Regions from separate parts of the Homo sapiens genome. Here all the other regions are linked to region 1. Evidence: promoter capture Hi-C in 16 types of primary human blood cells and fetal thymus (Javierre and others, 2016). All regions are on one chromosome and are shown on one strand. The core of a region is centred on a gene start or on the middle of the fragment in contact, and the rest is flanking DNA. Distances in the headings are between cores, read along the strand shown. Region 1 holds the start of RLIM (ring finger protein, LIM domain interacting). Region 2 holds the start of EDA (ectodysplasin A). Region 3 holds the start of IGBP1 (immunoglobulin binding protein 1). Region 4 has its middle 6.3 kb from the start of PGK1. Region 5 overlaps ATP7A (ATPase copper transporting alpha). Region 6 holds the start of COX7B (cytochrome c oxidase subunit 7B). Region 7 holds the start of ATRX (ATRX chromatin remodeler).

The links. Contacts are between HindIII fragments. The CHiCAGO score rates a contact against its expected background, and 5 or more counts as called.
Region 2: a contact is called between the fragment with the promoter of EDA here and the fragment with the promoter of RLIM in region 1, in 1 of 17 cell types (M1 macrophages). The highest score is 5.5, in M1 macrophages.
Region 3: a contact is called between a fragment that was not itself captured here and the fragment with the promoter of RLIM in region 1, in 1 of 17 cell types (total CD4 T cells). The highest score is 5.3, in total CD4 T cells.
Region 4: a contact is called between a fragment that was not itself captured here and the fragment with the promoter of RLIM in region 1, in 1 of 17 cell types (neutrophils). The highest score is 7.4, in neutrophils.
Region 5: a contact is called between a fragment that was not itself captured here and the fragment with the promoter of RLIM in region 1, in 1 of 17 cell types (monocytes). The highest score is 10.1, in monocytes.
Region 6: a contact is called between a fragment that was not itself captured here and the fragment with the promoter of RLIM in region 1, in 3 of 17 cell types (fetal thymus, monocytes and total CD4 T cells). The highest score is 13.4, in fetal thymus.
Region 7: the fragment with the promoter of ATRX here is called in contact with the fragment with the promoter of RLIM in region 1 in 1 of 17 cell types (neutrophils); the score reaches 6.5 in neutrophils.

What each region holds. Positions count from the first base shown.
Region 1 is chrX:74,613,311-74,615,999 of GRCh38, reverse strand. It overlaps RLIM (ring finger protein, LIM domain interacting), which reads left to right and starts at 1,376. Exons shown (of 4, transcript NM_016120.4): 1 at 1,376-1,578. RefSeq lists an enhancer at 1,452-1,771. The HindIII fragment of the contact is 9,843 bases long and covers 1-2,689 here.
Region 2 is chrX:69,614,728-69,617,416 of GRCh38, reverse strand. EDA (ectodysplasin A) reads right to left here and starts at 1,304. Exons shown (of 8, transcript NM_001399.5): 1 at 713-1,304. The coding sequence starts at 1,108. RefSeq lists a silencer at 1,357-1,476. The HindIII fragment of the contact is 7,678 bases long and covers 1-2,689 here.
Region 3 is chrX:70,130,961-70,133,649 of GRCh38, reverse strand. IGBP1 (immunoglobulin binding protein 1) reads right to left here and starts at 203. Exons shown (of 7, transcript NM_001551.3): 1 at 110-203. The HindIII fragment of the contact is 408 bases long and covers 1,185-1,592 here.
Region 4 is chrX:78,096,616-78,099,304 of GRCh38, reverse strand. No RefSeq gene overlaps it. Among named protein-coding and RNA genes, the nearest start is that of PGK1, 6.3 kb to the left of the region's middle. The HindIII fragment of the contact is 2,360 bases long and covers 202-2,561 here.
Region 5 is chrX:77,913,831-77,916,519 of GRCh38, reverse strand. All of the region lies in intron 1 of ATP7A (ATPase copper transporting alpha), which reads right to left. Among named protein-coding and RNA genes, the nearest start is that of ATP7A, 4.5 kb to the right of the region's middle. The HindIII fragment of the contact is 5,339 bases long and covers 1-2,689 here.
Region 6 is chrX:77,896,867-77,899,555 of GRCh38, reverse strand. It overlaps COX7B (cytochrome c oxidase subunit 7B), which reads right to left and starts at 88. Exons shown (of 3, transcript NM_001866.3): 1 at 1-88. The coding sequence starts at 2. RefSeq lists an enhancer at 1-134. The HindIII fragment of the contact is 1,754 bases long and covers 374-2,127 here.
Region 7 is chrX:77,784,874-77,787,562 of GRCh38, reverse strand. ATRX (ATRX chromatin remodeler) reads left to right here and starts at 1,347. Exons shown (of 35, transcript NM_000489.6): 1 at 1,347-1,581. The coding sequence starts at 1,562. RefSeq lists enhancers at 1,274-1,463, 1,474-1,583 and a silencer at 1,684-1,733. The HindIII fragment of the contact is 7,766 bases long and covers 535-2,689 here.

The DNA.
Region 1 (2,689 bases), core at 127-2,626:
TGGTCAGGGAAGGCTTCTCTAGGAAGTTAATAATTGCGAGGCTTGGATGATGAAAGCAAAGATATGAAAGTAAAATATTCCAGCAAAGGTAAAGTAGTTGAAGTAGGAAGAAGTTAGCTTTGTTGGAAAAACCGTAACAAAGCCAGCATAGCTGGCATGCTATTGGAAAACAGAAAAATTGGGAAAAGGAAAAGAATCTAAAAACTTGGGTAAGGTTTTCCTTTAACTGTGACAATGGGAGTGGCATGCTGTGTGGCGAGTTCCCTCAATTCTTTCAGGCATTACTACCTAAGAAAGGCCTTCTTTAACTGCCCTTTTACAAATCCCAACGTTATCAGATTTTCCCACCCTTTTACAATCACCGCCCTTTTTCGAATACTTTAGAGTTAATGCCTCAAAGTTATCAGTCTTTTAAACATCACGAATCCGTTTGTCCCTACAAGGAACTCTTCTGTCCCCCTTCCTTGATTTTTCTCCTTGGCATTTATCACTAACATGATATGTATTTATGTTTGATTTTTTCTAAATTATTGTCCCTGGCCCCTATAAAGACTCAAGAGAACTGGGATTTTGATCTGTTTTCTTTTTTTTTTTTTTTTTTTTTTTGAGACACAGCCTTGCTCTGTCACCCAGGCTAGAGTGCAGTGGCGAGATCCCGGCTCACTGCAATCTTCGCCTCCTGGGTTCAGCTATTCTCCTGCCTCAGCCTCCCGATTAGCAGAGATTACAGGCGCCCGCCACCACGCCCGGCTAATTTTCGTATTTTTAGTAGAGACTGGGTTTCACCATGTTGGCCAGGCTGGTCTCGAACTCCTGACCTCAGGTGATCCGCCCGCTTCGGCTTCCCAAAGTGCTGGGATTACAGGCGTGAGCCACCGAACGTGGCCTGTTTTCTTTCTTAATTTTGGTCTATTTTAATTTCCTAAGCAGCTACAATGGTGCTTGACATGCAGTTGGCACTGTGTAAATACATGTTGAATAAAACGCAGGCTACTTTTTGAACTGGTCTGCACGGATTGTGTGAACTGATGTGATGTCAGGGTAGACTAATATCACATTTCTCTCTCTCTGAAAATGTCTTCAAGCAGTCAGACCGTGACGTCCTTCAGTTTTCAAAATGGGAAAGCGAAGGTTCCCACAATTCTCAGAACGCAAATTTCTCGCCACAATTCAAAATGGCGGAGGAGGGTGGGGCCTGTCACATGGTGGGCGTCATAACAGCTTTCCTTTTCCAAACCGCCGCCCGCCTTGCCGCGTCGTCTGCCGTCCCCCTCCTCCTCCCGCGGAGCCTTTTCGAGGAATCGACTGGGATTGGCTAATAGGCTGGGAGTGGGGCTGCGGTGCCGGGACGCGGCATCATCACTTCCTGTTGTGGGCAGTCGTTTCCTGTCGCTGCTTGGTAACAATGGGGAAGATAATGGCTGCCTGAGCAACGTCTCCGAGCAGGCGCTGGGCTAGAGGCGGGTCTCAACCAGCTACTCATTGGAGGCGGGCTTGAGAGCGGCGGCCAGGGAGGTGCGGAGCAGCCTCGGCGGCGGCGGCCGAACCAACCGAGTCGGATCCTGACCCTAAAACCTAGTAAGTGAAGACTTGGGAATCCTGTGAGAAATGATGTAGAGCGAGAGGAAGACAGCGGAGCCGCGGCTGCCGCGTTCTCTCAAAATGGCCCGAGTGACGCGTCGTGGCAGAGGCTCAGCGCCGCCTCCGGACCCCAGGCCCGTTGCTGCGGGGGGCTCCGTGGCGTAGTCGCCGCTGCCATTTTAGTTGAGTGGTATAGTCGACAGGCTCTTTGAAGGGGAAGGAGGTGGGTAGTACTTCCTCTCGGTGGCCGCGCGAGCTGCAGCCCAGGCCCTCCGGAGCCTTAGGAAATCGGGGGAGGCAGTTTTTGAGTTTTGGCCTCAGGCGTCAGAATCTTAGAACGTCTCAGGCTTTTTCTTCTCTGTTCTCTGGAGGCTTCCCTGACCTCCCCGCGTTTTCCATGGCGGGCTTGGGTTTGGGAAAAGGGAAGTAAAAAATCAGGCTGCCCCAAGTGAGATGCTGGCAACTCTTGGGCCTTTAGATTTCCAAAACCTCATTTTGAGCCCTTCTGCAGGGTATTACCAATTAGGCGCCCCCTGGGGCCGCGATGACATCTTCCCTGAGGATCTGAGGCAAATGTGGTTTACTCCCTTGCTCGAATAACCCTGGCATATCCTTTGCCAGGTATCACTGGAAGGATCCCCCCGCAAAAGAGAGGGAAAAGCCGTTAGGTGTTTGTTGTGTTCTCCTGGATAAGGGATGGAATTGGGCCAAATTTTCAAGTTAATTTGTGTTTAATCCACCAACAACTCAATCCCTCCCCCATTAAAAAAAAAAAAAAAAGCCTAGGGGGGTCTCTGCTTCTGCAGACGGTACCTGCCACGCATGCCATAGCTTAGTAACTAGTATTAACCGGTTGGGCTTCTGCTTCCTGAATACTCGGTCCCTTTTTCCCTTATGCTGATTAATTTCAAGATGGAGGAGACAGCCACGTTCCTTCCCTAGACAGTTTCACCATACTTATTCCACAGGTTAGTCTGGGAATCTGAGGCCTAGCAGTCTTGTTATTGAGGTCATTTTTTTTTTCATTTTGGGGCAAGAGGAAGCAGTTGTATCAGATTGTCATCTTCCATTTGCAAGACCCCACAATGATTTTTTGCCAGAAGTAAGG
Region 2 (2,689 bases), core at 55-2,554, 5.0 Mb after region 1:
ACCGCACACCTACCCCGCTTAAGAATCAGAACCGGCATGCAAAGGGTGAGTTTTATTTCCATAGATTTTTAAAATTGCTGTTCAGAAGTTGTCTAGCAAGACGGCATATTTCTACCAGAATTCCTCAGGGGCGCTGATCCTCACTAGAACGCCGAGGACAATCAGTCTCAAATTGCAGGTAAGTGTGAACAAGCCCACGTTCTGGTCAGCGCACAAGGACCCGCGCTGAAAATGCGGTTAAAAGTTGTTTCAACGGGCGGGCGTGGAACAGTTATTACAGCTGTTTACAGCTCCAACTCCAAAGGGGAGCCTGCTGGTTCTGGCATCAGCTCTAGACACGAAAAAACAAGCACCGCGGGCAGAGAACCTCATCACGAGCAGAAGGGCCAAGCCGTTAGTCGGCCGGGGGGCAGCGCAGGCACCTCCTCGACGGGAGCGTCGCCAACTTTTCTCGAGGCAGCCCGCAGCCAGGGGCCGCGGGCGCGCGCGAGACTTTCCAAGTCAAGGGGTCCCCAGGGAGTCTGGATTAGCTGGGCCAGGGACCGAAGACAACCTGCCCTGGGCAACTTCTCCCTTGCTCGCCTGGTCCCTCCCTGGTCCTGCCCTCTAAATTGGCTCGAGGTTGCTGAGTGCTCCCAGGCCCCTGTGGCGGAGGGCCCTCGCCCTACCCGCGAGGGGAGGGGGCCGCCGCCGCCCCTACTAGGTGACTCACCTGGTGCCCGTCCTGGGAGTCAGAGTGGAGTGCGGCTTCTCCCGGTTCCAATGGCTGCTGCTTAGGTGACGGCTGCCCAAGGTGACTGGTGATGGGGCTGTCAGGGTCGAGGCCACCGAGGCTGCTTAGGGTGCCAGAGGTGCCAGGGGTGCCCGAGCCGCCAAGGCGGGACTCGGCTCCACGTTCCCGCCGCAACTCCGAGCGCAACTCTAGGTAGCAGCACAACGTCAGCAGGTGGAGGGCCAGCGAGAGGCCAAAGAAACCCAGGAAGAGCAGGCAGCTGTTCCCTTCGCCCGCCCGGGCAGGGGCCCCGCCACACCCGCAGCCCTGGCTCCCTCGCTCCCGCGGCGCTGCTGCAGGCAGGAGTTCCCTGCGCTCCACCTCCGGGTAGCCCATGGCCTCCGGAGACACCCACTCTCTTGAGGCCCGGGAGCCGCTGCGTCTGCCTCAGCCGTTCACGACCTCTGACAGGCGGCTACTGTCCTGCCATCGGCTGGGGGCTGCAGGGACCCGTTCCTGCGCGACAGTGGCTGGGCGGGACGGAGCAGGGAGCAGCCGCATGTGCAGCTCTACTCCGAGGGGTGGGAAAGGGAGGAGGAGGGGCGGGAGAGAGGGGAGGCTCGGCCCGCCGAGGGAATGAAGGAGGAGGTCCCGGCCGACCCCGCCCCATCCCTCAAGCGGCTGCCGGGACGCCCAACCACGGGGCCGCCAAGCCTTGGCGCCCCGCCCCGTGCCGTTCCAGCCGGGCCTCCAGCCGCGGGGCGGGGCCTGGGGGCGTGAGGGTTCGCCTCTGCCTGGCCGCCCCACCCAGCTCTTCCCGCTTGCCCCGTACCAGTTGGTGACTGGCGCTGTCGTTCATCCCTGGGCTCCGCCCCAGTTTAACCCTATAGCGCCAGTACGGGGAGGAAAGGAGGGGGAGGCTAAGAATTTGGGAACCTTGGAAAGAAAGTAGAGCAAAGAAAAGGAGGCAGAAACTAGCATTAATAGAAATGTTTGCAATTAACTGCAGTTGTTAATAACATCATCCAGTACTTATCTGTTGCTTCCAATCTTCAAAGCGTTTAACAGACGTTAAACTAATTAAAACAGCTCTGGGTTTGGAATGAAACCATGCCTGCTGTGTTTGCAATTCAATGGCTCGCCCGAAGAAAAGGAGACCCAGGAGCCTGGGAACTATGGGAATGGGTGGGACTCAAGCAGCCTCACTCCTGGAGTGACTCTGAAGGCTCAATCTAAGTAACAGAGAAGCCGCCCCATGCCAAGCGGAACTGAAATGATGTTGTCCCTTGAAGGGTAAAACAGTCTCCTAGGATTTCTTGATATATTAATTAATTCAACAAATATCTATCGATCCCTGTACAATGCAAAAAATGCTGTATGAGAGCATCCACAGCCAGAATAGATTTCTTCCACTGCAGCAGTTTTGATTGGAGAACGTATGTCTTCAGTGAGTAGACAGGGAAACCGAGGGCCAGAATGAAGTGGATTTGTACAAGTGTGGTCCACAGAATGGCCAGACACTACTGGCATCTTTATTTACAGGCAACTGTTCTGGCCTCTCCACCCCTCCCATCCTTCTCCTGGAGTACTCCCTGGGGGAAGTTCAACAAGTCAGCCAAATGTTCCAGATGTACACTGCTGCAACTGCAGCATCTTCAACAGCTGCACCAATCAGAAACGGGTTCAGATAAAAAAAAAAAAGTGGCAAAAGGCAGAACAATAGACCCTGAAATGAAGGATGGAAAGGATTAAATCAAGAGTCACAATTGACAAGAGTTACTAGTCTGAGATTATAGAAAGCGAAATGACCATAGCAGGGGAACCATGTATGCTTCATAGTCACTACGCACTCTCATTCCGTGTTATTGAGTAATGAATAATTAACAATTTTATTGACTTGCAGCAGGCATCTTGAGTGTCATCATGGAGGCTCAGCAATGCCGGGGGCACTTATGTGTAGGCCTAAGACCTAGGCTG
Region 3 (2,689 bases), core at 139-2,638, 4.5 Mb after region 1:
TGAGAAGTTCTGTGGGCTCTGAAGCCCGGGTGAGGCGAGGCTGAATTCGGAGCGCGAGGAGTGCGGACGAGCGAGTGCGTTTTAGGAGCCAGTCTGGCGCGCCCCTTACCTCGCGAGTAGCTCCCTAGGTTGAGGAGTCCAGGGACTCTAGCCGCCGCACCACTCCCACGGTTTGAAGATCCGGTCGCTTGAGCGCGAAGTGCAAGTAGCGCCCCCCTGCGGTTTCCGTCCACCCACCAGATGGAGCTCCGGGTTCCTCCCAGCCAATCCTCTCCCGTCCTCTTCCCCCTTCACCCCACACACGCCTACGACCCGTAGGCCGGCGTCCGGTGGAGCCCCCCTCAGCAAGATTGGCAACCTGCAACTCCGGTCACCGCACAGCCGGCTTCCCTTCGTGCACTTAGTTCCTACATCAAATGTTATTTCTGTGCAACCTTCCTTGTCTCTCTACCGCCTTCCACCCTGTGCCCTTCAGCCGCCAAGTCTGGGTTTCTCCTATGCATCTCTATCATGGCACCTACCACGCTGTATAATTGCTAGTGACTTACAAATCTCTCTTATCAGAATGAATTTGACTCATCTTTGCACCACTCTGGCTAGCCTGAGTACTCAGTATCAGTCATTATCTGAATAAAAAAAAAAAGTGATCAGTTTGGAAAGCAGCCAACTTATGCAGAACAGCATTGTTCAGTAGGTAGTTACTAGCTACATGTGGTTACTAAGCACTTGAAAGTGGCTATTTTGAATCGAGATGTGCTGCAAGTGTAAAAAACACCCCAGATTTCAAAGACATTTAAAAAAAAAAGAATGAAAAATGTAAATACTTTTTACATGGACTACATGTTGAAATGATAGTCTTTTGGATATGTTGGATTAAATATATTATTAGAATTAATTGTACTTCTTTCTTTTCACTTTGTAAATGTGCCTGCCAGATAATTTAAAACTATATTTGTAGCTCCCATTATATTTCTACTGGACAGAACTGATGGAAAACATAATTTCAGGACTTCAAAGAAGGGACGTCATTGTTTTGAACAAAGCAATATAAATACATACTGATTACCTTAGGACGCAGCCTGAATTGTCCTAGGAGATTTAAGTAGCAGGCACACTGTCTACCCCTGAAAATAAACTTTTAAACTAGTATTTTAAACTACATATCGTTGAGAAGAAAAAAAGCTTCATTAAAAAACAACTAGAGGGCAATATAGGACAGTATAAAATAGGTGATATGTTGTATTGCACAGGCTGTTGGAAAAGCAAGAAAGGGCAAGTCATCCCATGCTAGGAGTAGTTCAGAAGGCTTCTTAGACATGACATGCGGTCACATAGAAGAATGTCAAAGTTTAAAGGGAACCCCCAAAATCGGAGGAAAAACTTGAGACCAGAAAGGTTAAGGGACTTGTCCAGCCAGTTTGTGACAAAGTCAGTGACTTCTGCGTTCAATTGTTTCTACTCCATTAACCTTCAGTTGGGTAGGATTTAGAAAGATGAAGACCTTTAATGTGGGACAGATTGAAGCCCCAAACTAGAACAGTGCTTCCTAAGAGGGAGAGGAGGCTGTGGCACACATGTAGGTTGAAAAAGCTTCCCAGGTGATTCTAATAAACCTTCCCTTGCAACCCCTGCTTTATAAACTAAGAAGGAAGTGAGGCTTTGGCGAATTACCTATTTGGTTTATCTGGCACCTCTAGTAAACTGACCTTTCAGGGTCAGGCTTGGCAGGGAATATAAAGAAAAAGATAGTACTTGTGGAGGAGACTTAGAAATGTAGTAATTGTGAGAGTAAAGATAATTTGCTTCTCTGCATTTGCTTGGATTAAAACATGTCTTTACTGTTACTTAAGAGGAAAAAAATGTGCACAGTCTTAATTTGGTCTTAAACTTTGTAAGTCATTTTTTATGGCTTTCAAAATTAGTCTTTTTTTTTTTTTTTTTTTGAGACAGGGTCTCACTCTGCCACCCAGGCTGGAGTGCTGGAATGCATTGGCACGATCTTAGCTCACTGCAAACTCCGCCTCCTGGACTCAAGTGATCCTCTACCCTCAAGCCCCCCAATTAGCTGGGACTACAGGTGCAAGTCACCACTCCTGGCTAATTTTTGTATTTTTTTGTAGAGGCGGGGTTTCGCCATGTTGCCCAGGCTGATCTCAAACTCCTGAGGTCAAGTGATCCACCCGCTTCACCGTCCCAAAGTGTTGGGATTACAGACGTGATTCAGTGTGCCCAGCCAAAATGACGGTCTTTATGGGAGATGCCAATTACTTTCAGAGTGCCTGTTATATATTAGAGTTGTCATTTTAAGCATTGCATTTCATCTTATTCTGAAAGAATACCAAGATTAAAAAGTGGTTAGAAAAAAAGGAATAATGGCCGGGCGTGGTGGCTCATGCCTGTGATCCCAGCACTTTGGGAGGCCGAGGTGGGCAGCTCACCTGAGGTCAGGAGTTCAAGACCAGCCTGGCCAACATGGTGAAACCCTGTCTCTACTAAACATACAAAAATTAGCTGGGCATGGTGGCGCGGGCCTGTAACCCCAGCTACTCCGGAGGCTGAGGCAGTGAGCCGGGAGGCAGAGGCTGCAGCGAGCCGAGATCACACCACTGCACTCCAGCCTGGGCGACAGAGCGAGACTCTGTCTCACAAAAAAGAAAGAAAAAAAGGAATAATAAAAACGAGTCGTTTG
Region 4 (2,689 bases), core at 132-2,631, 3.5 Mb before region 1:
CTAATAGATTTACCCTTTGAGCCAGCAGTTCCATTTCTGTGAATCTAATGTAAGGATAGATCTCTGGACTTTATGTATTTCTGTATGTACATTTTCTCATTTGTCATAGCAAAGGACAGGAAAAATCCCAAGTGTCTGTCAATAAAGGACTAGTTAAACTATGGTACATGAATACAATAGAATACTGTACTATATGAAGCTTAAGAATGAGGGAGCTCATTCCATATCAAGGCTGCAGTAAGCTGTGATGGCGCCACTACACTCTGGTTTGGGTGGCAGAGAGAAACCCTGTCTCCTGTCTCTACAAATATATATATATATATATTTGTATGTATATGGCTTCTTGGCTTGTGTTTGCATAATGAAACACTGGCAGGACACAGTGGCTCACGACTGTATCCCAGCCCTTTAGGAGGCCAAAGCCGGATAATCGCTGGAGGCAAGGAGTTCGAGACCACCCTGGGCAACATACCAAGACCCCTGTCTCTACAAAAAAAAAGAAGAAGAAACACTGAAAGGATATATAAGAAATGAATAACATTGTTATTTATGGGAGTAGGAAGTGTAAGTTAGATGGGGACAGGAGTAGGTATGGGGGTTCTAAATGTAAATCTTGTTAGTTTATTTTTTGAACCATGTTAATGTATTACTTATTCAAAATAAGTAACTTAAAAAGAAATCGGGGTTAGACAAACAAGATCATCCATAAGCTACATTAGGAAAGCCCAAGATTTTCTGAGAGGCCAAAGCTATCAGTAGTCGCTGCTACTTAAACAACTCACTGAATACCACTGTGCCCCCAGTGAACCTACAGAAAAGGAAATCAAGAAAAATGGCATGTCTTTGGGCTGTAAACTGGCTAGAGAATCCAGATACCATGAAACAACAGTAGAAATTCATACAGAAGTTGATGGGTTTAGCATTCTCTATGGTGGTAGATGAGACTTCTTTCTGTCCCTTTTCTTGTCATCAAGTATGGTTTCATGTGCAGTCACTTTAGACCACATAGTAAAATGGCAGAGATCATCAACAATGAGATCACAAAATGCAATGAGCTTTTGTTGAATCACTTAGCCTCTGGGACATGTGCAAAGACAGCTAGATGTGTAGAGAGAATTCATAATGATGGCTAAGTAGCTGCCTTGCTCAGATTTTCTGCACTGAACTACCAAGGATACAAATGTTACCCTTTAAGGCAATGATTGAGTAAAAGGTTGGAATGCTCTGGCTAAATAGTGAATTGGGGAGTTATCATATTAGGTAGTTACCACCCAGTAATACCTTATTATGCATTAACTAGTTAACTAGAGTTCTGAAATGTGAACAATAAGTTATTAGGTTTTCATGCTGAAATAAAGGCTAAAAGGAATAGTGCAATGAATAGTATCAGAAGAGGGCAGGCTTGGGAGAGTAACAGTAATGGGGGTTTAGGGAAGGGGATGAAGCATGAGAGTCTGGGAAATGACAAGGTACAGACCTGGTCATGGAGGAGCCATTACAAAAACAGCCTAGTTCCATGTAGCTTGCCACACAGATGTCCAAGCGCCACCTAGGTTTAGTGTTTTGTTTATTTATTTGTTTTGTTTGTTTTTGTTTTGAGACGGTGTTTTGCTCTTGTTGCCTAGGCTGGAGTGCAATGGCACGATCTTGGCTCACTGCAACCTCCGCCTCCCGGGTTCAAACGATTCTCCTGCCTCAGCCTCCCAAGCAGCTGGGATTACAGGCACCTGCCACCATGCCCAGCTAATTTTTGTATTTTTAGTAGAGACAGGGTATCACCATGTTGGACAGGCTGGTCTCGAACTCCTGACCTCGTGATCCACCCGCCTCAGCCTCCCAAAGTGCTGAGCCACCGCTCAGCCACCGCTCCCGGCCTCACCTAGGTTTATTAAATCATATGTCCTGTGAAATTCCAAATGGAACAACAATGTAATGCACTTAAAGGGAAGTTATAAAACTTCTTAAGTACCCCCAGGTGAATCTAATGCACAATAAGCCTCGCAAACTGCAACTTTCTGGTATCTACTGGCCATGACAGTTATATTTCTCACTGCAAATAAATTTATTTTTTCTGTCAGGCAGTTTCTCGAGGGATCAACCCTGGACATGCCTAATTCCCCAATGAGAGTGGGGTAGCCAAATAGCTCATGATCGAAGACTGGAATTAACACAAATGAAAACAGAGAGGGCAAAATAAACATTTTAAGAACAGTTTAAAGTAAGGCAAGTTTGCACAGACACTGGCCTAATCATAAGATGAAGGAATTGAAACTGGCTTTGCAAAAATTATATCAGTGTGTAATAGAGCAGCTTAGCTTCAAACCATGTTTTAAAACTTTTTTTTTCTTTTCTTCTTTCCCCCCAGTCTCAAGACATAGCTTTGACATAAACTACAGAAGTGTTTTCTTTTTCCTTGAAATACAGCCTGGGGATGTGCTTTAAAATTCCACTTCCTCCCCTTTCCCACCTTATGCTCCCATGCCTTATGCATATTTATTTACCTGGATGCTTGTTAAGTTCACACTGGCTCACTTACCTGGTCATATATTTCCTTAGAAGCTTCAAGGACTGAATCCTGACAGGAAACAGGCACCTCCAGGATTCTCTCCCCAGCAGAAGATTACTTCAAGACCGGAGTTCCCTCTGGACTGACTGCAAGATTGAATGTGATTGATTTGTAACCTGTCAG
Region 5 (2,689 bases), core at 49-2,548, 3.3 Mb before region 1:
GGGAAATAGGATGAGCACATCACAGTGATTTGATTTGCCAGCTGTAATAATGAGCTTTAAGATGCCATGTTAGCATATGTAGGTGTACTATAGGCTACTGGGGGACCCTCTCAATCTGAGTTTTCCATTTTCTTTCTCTTTTTTTTTCTTTTTTTTTTTTTTTTTGAGACAGGGTCTCACTCTGTCACCCAGGCTGGACTGCAGTGGCATGATCTCAGCTCATTGCAGCCTCAACCTCCCAGGCTCAAGCAATTCCCCCACTTTAGCCTCCCCAGTAGCTGGGACTATAGGCGCATGCCACCACACCTGGCTATTTTTTGTAATTTTTGTAGAGATGGGGTTTCACCTTGTTGCCCAGGCTGGTCTGGAACTCCTGAATTCAAGCAATCTACCCACCTCAGCCTCCCAAAGTGCTGAGATTACAGGCGTGAGCCACCGCACCGGCCAATTTTCTATGGTGTAAGTTAGAAATTAAGTATTGTGCCGGGCGTGGTGGCAGGGCCGGGAGCGGTAGCTCAAACCTGTAATCCCAGCACTTTGGGAGGCTGAAGCGGACAGATCACCTGAGGCCAGGAGTTTGAGACCAGGCTGGCCAACATGGCGAAACCCCATCTCTACTAAAAATAAATAAATTAGCCGGGTGTGGTGGCACACGCCTGTAACCCCATCTACTCGGGGGGCTGAGGCATGAGAATCGCTTGAACCCTGGAGGCAGAGGTTGCAGTGAGCCGAGATCGTGCCATTGCAACTCCAGCCTGGGCTACGGAGCAAGACCCTGTCTCCAAAAAAAATTTTTTTAAAGAATTTAAATATTGCTTGCAAGTATTGATTGATTAGTATATTGATCCTGTAGTCTACTAAATTTATAGTACAGCAAAACTGTAATTTATAATTTTATTATATAGGATGTTAAAATTACTTTTACAGTAAATAATATATTAAAATATTAAAGGTAACTACATTTTATTGTATGTTTACTATCTGCCAGACACCGTACATGTATTAGATCATTAACAATCCTGTGAGACAGGTACTGTTATTGTCCCCATTTTAGAAATTTGAAGGAACTGAGGCACAGAGGAGTATGAAATCTGCGCAGGGTCATACAAGTAGTAAGCAGAGGGGCTGGGATCCCACCTAGACAGTCTAGCACCTGGACTGAGCCAGACAAGACAGGCTTTTTTTTTTTTTCCGGACAAGACAGGGTCTCACTCTGTCACTCTCTCATCCAGGGTGGAGTGCAGTGGTGTGATCTCAGCTCACTGCAGCCTCAACCTTCCAGGCTCAAGCGATCCTTCCACCTCAGCCTCCTGAGTAGCTGGGACTACAGGCACGTGCCAACACACTCAGCTAATTTTTGTATTTTTTGTAGAGACAGGGTTTCCCTATGTTGCCCAGGCTGGTCTCGAACGCCTGGGCTCAAGCAATCCGCCTGCCACGGCCTCCCAAAGTGCTGGGATTACAGGCGTGAGCAACTGTGCCCCACCTAGCCTCCACTCTTAATCCTATATTATACTGTCTCTCCAAAACAATATATCGCAATACAATGGTGAAGTTAAGATACCTTGAAGCATCAAGAGAATAATATCTAATACTCCAGAAAATGTTCAAAGATATTACTGTCAAGATGAAAAAACAAACATAGACCATTTCACTCCAGCCTAGGTGACAGAGCCAGACTCCATCTCAAAAATAAATAAACAAAAATAAACATTAGGTGTTTTAGTATATCTAAATATACATTTAGTATATCTTTTCTTTCTAGGAGAATCTGAGAATACAATTAAGACACCATTTTTAACACTAGGTGTTTTAAGGCCTGGCACAGTGGCTCATGCCTGTAATCCCAGCACTTTGGGAGGCTGAGGAGGGTGGATCACTTGAGGTCAGTCAGGAGTTCGATACCAGCCTGACCAACATGGCAAAACCCCTTCTCTACCAAAAATACAAAAACTAACCAAGTGTGGTGGCGCGCACCTGTAATCCCCGCTACTTGGGAGACTGAAGCAAGAGAATCACTAGAACCCAGGAGGCGGAGGTTGCAGTGAGCCGAGATAGCACCACTGCACAGCACGATGCTGTCTCTACAAAAAGTTTAAAAATTAGCTGGGAGTGGTGGCACACACCTATAGTCCCAGCTACTCAGGAGGCTGAGGTAGGAGGATCGCTTGAGCCTGGGAGATCGAGACTGCAGTGAGTTATGATGGCGCCACTGCACTCCAGCCTGGGTGACAGAGCAAGACCCCATCTCTTAAAAATAATATTATTTAAAAAATAATAATTAATTAATAAATAAGTAGCTAGGCATGGTGGCATGCGCCTGTGGTTCCAGCTACTTGAGAGGCCAGAGGATCATTTGAGCCCAGGAGATTAAGGCTGCAGTGAGCTATGATTGTGCCATGGCACCCTAGCCTGGGCCACAGAGCGAGGCCCTGCCTCTAGAAATAAATACATAGATAAATAATAACAATAACATCTTTTAAAATAAAAATAAAATAAAATAAGGTTAATGGCCAGTCTAAAACAATATCCCTACAATGTGAAATAACCCATTTATTTCAACTGGTAAATTGTTAAAAATGCACTCCTGATTATAGGTCTGAAAAACTGGACTTCTACACTAGAGATTAATAGTAAAAATAAGTAAAACTCTTTTTTCATCCTTGAGACATAGCTGTATAATTTTAAA
Region 6 (2,689 bases), core at 1-2,500, 3.3 Mb before region 1:
ATCGTGAAGGTGAAGCTAGAACTGCGGCAATACAGCTGCTGCTTTGGTGCCAATTCGCTTCAGGTACCCTTGAAGTGAGCTGAAAAACAAAATGGCTTTCAGCCGGGATCCGTAATGAGATTTGACGAAATCTCGCGATACCTGTAAAACCTATAGTAATTGCAATCCCTTTTCCCGCGAGGAAAAATAAAGGCCTTTTGGGAAATGTAGTTTCCGGCTTTATAAAATGACGTATGGTGGGTGGTATCTAATGAAGAATGAAAGAACTCCTTGAAGCCAGGTTTAGAGCTCTATAGAGGGCAGCCGAGAGACAGATCTTCGACCGAATCGTCTAAGGAACTAGCTTCAAAATGGCGTTCAAGTTCCACAAGCTTCGGTTTAGTATCTCCACACTAGCTCTTTCTTCTTTCTGTTCCCCCAAAACTTCCTTTACTTCTCTCATTTTTTTTGTCTGCTATTACTACTATACTAATTGGCTTAGCTTTTAGTTTTCAAATAACGTCAAGTTTAGAGAAAAGTTGCAAGAACAGTAAAAACTTCTGTAATATGTAGATAAATACGTGATAAAATAACTTTGGAAAGCTATTGGCCGGGCGCGGTGGCTCACGCCTGTAATCCCAGCACTTTGAGAGGCCAAGGTGGGCGGATCACGAGGTCGGAGTTCGAGACCAGCCTGGCCAAGATGGTGAAACCCCGTCTCTACTAAAAATACAAAAATTAGCCGGCGTGGTGGCGCGCGCCTGTCATCCCAGCTACTCAGGAGGCTGAGGCAGAATAATCACTTGAACCCGGGAGGCGGAGGTTGCAGTGAGCCGAGAACGTGCCACTGGACTCCAGCCTGGGCGACAGAGCGAGACTACGTCTCAAAAAGAAAGAAAGAAAAGAAAGCTGTTAGGCCTGGCGCGGTGGCTCACGCCTGTAATCCCAGCACTTTGGGAGGCCGAGGTGGGCGGATCACGAGGTCAGGAGATCGAGACCATCCTGGCCAACATGGTGAAACCCCATCTCTACTAAAAATACCAACAATTAGCTGGGCGTGGTGGCATGTGCCTGTAATCCCAGCTACTCTGTAGACTGAGGCGGCAGAATCGCTTGAACCAGGGAGTCGGAGGTTGCAGTGAGCCAAGATACCACCACTGCACTCCAGCCTGGTGACAGAGCAAGACTCCGTCTCAAAAAAAAAAAAGAAAAGAAAAGAAAAGAAAAAAAAGAAAGAAAAGAAATGGCAACACGGCAAAACCCCGTCTCTACTAATATACAAAAAATTAGCTGGGCATGGTGGCACATGCTTCTAATCCCAGCTACTCGGGAGGCTGAGGCATGAGACTTGCTTGAACCGGGGAGGCGGAGGTTACAGTGAGCCAAGATCGCACCACTGCACTCTAGCCTGAGACCTGTCCCAAAACAAAAAAAATAAAATACATACAGTTCAGTGGCATTAATGGCATTCACATTGTTGTGCAACTATCACCATTATTCATCTCTAAGACTTTTTCATCGTGTAAAACTAAATGCTTTGATTATACATTTTGACTATTGAAAATATTAACATTATTCCAAAAGTCAAAACTAAACAGACTAGTGTACTTAGAGAAGTGTCATTCCCTCCCCTAACTGTTGCATTCCATTTCCACCAATTCCTATAGGTAACCGATTTCATTACTTTCTGGTTTATCTTGTGTGTTTCCTTTTGCAAAAATAGGCAAATACCTGTATGTTTTCTTATTTCTCTATTTTATACAAATGTAGCATAAAAATCCATTATCATTTTACATAAGTCTTCCTCATTCCTTTTTTACAGCTGCAAAATCTGTGGTGTATATGTGCTATAGTATATTCAGTCAATCTCCTATGTTGGAATATTTAGGTAGTTTCAAGAATATTTCAATTTCAATAATGCTGAAATGAATAACTTTGTGCACACATATTTTCATATTGCTGGATGTCTCTCTCCAAGGTAGGTTACTAGAAGTGGGATTGCTGGATTAAAGGATAAATATATGTGTAGTTTTTTTAGATATTGCCAAATTATAGATGTTGTAACGTTTTGCCTTCCCACCAGCAACGTATTAATATAAAGGGTGCCTGACTCCCCACAGCCTTGCTAATAGCATGTAGTGTCAAGCTTTTGGATTTTTGCCAATATGATAGGTAAGATATCCCTTTTAAACTTTAAAATTTTTATTTTTAAAACATACACATAGTAAAATTCACTTTTTGGTGTACAGTTCTATGCGTTTTGACAAATGCATACAATTGTGTCACCACCACCACAATTAAGGACAGAATAGCTCTAGCATCATAAAAACACCCTTGTTTGACCTCTTTGTGATCAACCCTTTTCCCTACCCCTAGCCCCTGGCAGCCACTAATCTGTTCTCTGTACCAATGAGTTTGCCTTTTCCAGAATGTCATATATAGATTGAATCATACAGTATGTCTCAGTGTACTTTTATTTTGCATTTTTTCTTTTTTCTTTCCTTTTTTTTTTTTTTTGAGATTGAGTTTCGCTCTTGTTGCCCAGGCTGGAGTGTGATAACACGATTTCAGCTCACTGCAAACTCCGCCTCCAGGGTTGAAGCGATTCTTCTGCCTCAGACTCCCATGTAGCTGGGATTACAGGCCTGCGCCACCACACCGGGCTAATTTTTAAATTTTTAGTAGAGACGGGGGTTTTGCCATGTTGGTC
Region 7 (2,689 bases), core at 98-2,597, 3.2 Mb before region 1:
CTTGAGCTTAGATGTTTGAGACCAGCCTGGGCAACAGACAGACCTACCTCATCTATACCAATACATAAATACATAATTAGCTGGGCTTGATGGCACGCGCCTGCAGTCCCAGCTGCTTGAGAGGCTGAGGTGGGAGGATTGCTTGAGCCTAGGAGGTCGAGGCTGCAGTGAACTGCGTCACGCCACTGCACTCCAGCCTGGGTGACAGAGCTAGACCCTGTCTCAGAAAAAAAAAAAAAAAAAGTTGCCTGAGCCTATCAGATTTTCAAAGTGTTTCATTCAAAAAAGGCTCCCCTCTTGCTATCCCAGTAGAAAGCAGCAACCCTGTCACCTAACCCCGACAGGAGCTCTTGCATATTTCAAGAAAAATAAATAGAATGAACTAAAGCATGCATGGCAGAATAAATTTGGAAATAAATTTCGAAGCGATTAGATTTTAGAGGACTTGTTTGTGATTAGCAGAGATTACCAATGTAAAATCAAATTATAGATCATAAAAGCGGGAAAGGCATTTACAGATCATCCAGCCAAGCTTCCTCTGTAATGAGAAGGAAGCAGATCTAAATTGATTGGTTTGTGAGCTAAACATCACATCAAATTGGGGAAATGGCCCGTGTGTGTGTGTGTGTGTGTGTGTGTGTGTGTGTGTGTGTGTGTATTCTAAGAGACACTTTATTCAATATGGAAAGAATTTTATGCAGCGTTCAAGTTGGTCTTATGTCGTCTGCACACATATACATATATATAAGTATATTATACACATATACATTTCCAAGCATGTTGGTGTGCCAAATATTATGTATAAAACATCTAGGAAAGCAAATAACTTGATGATAGCCTAGCATATAGGAAAGAAAATACTTACATAGGATGGCCATACAGATTAGTGGTTAAGAGTGTCTGGTGAATCTCGGCTCCACTACTGTGGGACTTTGTGTCTTGGTTTCCTCATCTGGAAAATGTAGGTTTGTCTACCTCAGAGAGTGTAAAGATTAAATGAGATAACCCGGATAAAGGATTAGTGTAGTGCCGAGCATATAGTAAACTCTCAATAAATGTAGGTTGCTGTTATTACTTCGTTAATATGTCAAAGAAAAAAGAGGTTGGACCAAAAGAGCATTTTCAAAATAAAGTCAAACTATGTCACTAGCACTTTCAGGTCAATTGGGACTAAATTGGACCCCCTGCGAAAAGGTGGAGGGGATCAAATGACGTCGACCGCCTTAGCAACAGGCCCCCAAAGAAGGTGAATTTCCGTAGCCAATAAGACTCTGTGCTTTGGAGGAGGTAGCCAATGGCTGACGGAAAGAGAAAGAGGGAGGACGCGCCAATTCTCCTGCCTGAGCCTCGGCCCAACAAAATGGCGGCGGCAGCGGTGTCGCTTTGTTTCCGCGGCTCCTGCGGCGGTGGCAGTGGTAGCGGCCTTTGAGCTGTGGGGAGGTTCCAGCAGCAGCTACAGTGACGACTAAGACTCCAGTGCATTTCTATCGTAACCGGGCGCGGGGGAGCGCAGATCGGCGCCCAGCAATCACAGAAGCCGACAAGGCGTTCAAGCGAAAACATGACCGCTGAGCCCATGAGGTAAAACGCAACCCCGTCTCATGGGCCCCAGCGGTCTGGGCCCAGGCACCGTCTGAGTCGGGTGTTTGGGAAGGCGTTCGCTTGGTGGGTTAGGCCTGTGTGTTGCTTAGCCGAAAGAGGCATCGTTTTCTCTTTAGGTGAGAAGGGTTTCGGGGTATCGGCGCAAGGCTCCGACGGGGGTGGGGGTGGGGATGGGGTGGGGGGAGGTGGGGGGGGCGCGGCCTAGGGTATGGGGCGCTTCTTGCAATCTCCCCTAAACGGTGACGCTTGGTCGGGCTCCTCTGTTTATTCTTTGGTGCCTGTGGGATTGAGACCTCGAAGTCGGAGGCGGTCTTTGGTATCCCGGTCATTTTTGCTAATCTTTGGGCCTAGAAACTGCGTGGGGAAGAAGCGGGGGGAGGGTGAGAAGAGGGGGAGGGGTGGGCGGGCGCGAGGATGTGAGATCCCAGGACGACTTAGAGGCGTTTAGGTTGCTGGAGATGGGAAGCACCCGGGCCCTGCGGGATTTTTTTTCTGCAGCCCCAGGAGACAAGCCTTTTTTTGATTGGGTTGTGGTGCAGTTCCAGGTATTTAGGTATCTTTTCTACTCCATATCCTGAAGGATATCCTTGGGTTTATTTCTAGGCGAGGGGGGACTTAACACAGGGTTTTGCTTCCAGAGGACCCTAGTATACTACTTTTTGTGATGTCCAGCCTTAATGGGACCTCAAGTGTTTCCCCACTTTCTGGGCAAATTTCGAGGAGTAATTAGGCCCTATCTTTATTTACTTATTTATTCCATGAAGGATGAAGGGCAGGTTAACGTGGGCTGATGCGAAGTAAGATTTATTGCAAGGGAAAATGCCTGGCAGGCCTCCTCTTAACCAATCAAGCACGTTTATTAGGTTGAAGCTGTTTTTCTGTGTGCTTCTGATTTGCCTCTTGACGGGTCTGAAAATTTGGGTAGTCAATATGAAATGTATACACTTTTACCCAGGTGGCTGGCTGGCGTTTCAGTTTGACATTTGAATTTTCATCCCACAATGTGAATTAAGTAATTTTTTTACTCGGAGATGCATCCTTGGCGTCCAGTGGCAAAATAAAATTACAAGGAGCATGGGTCAGAATT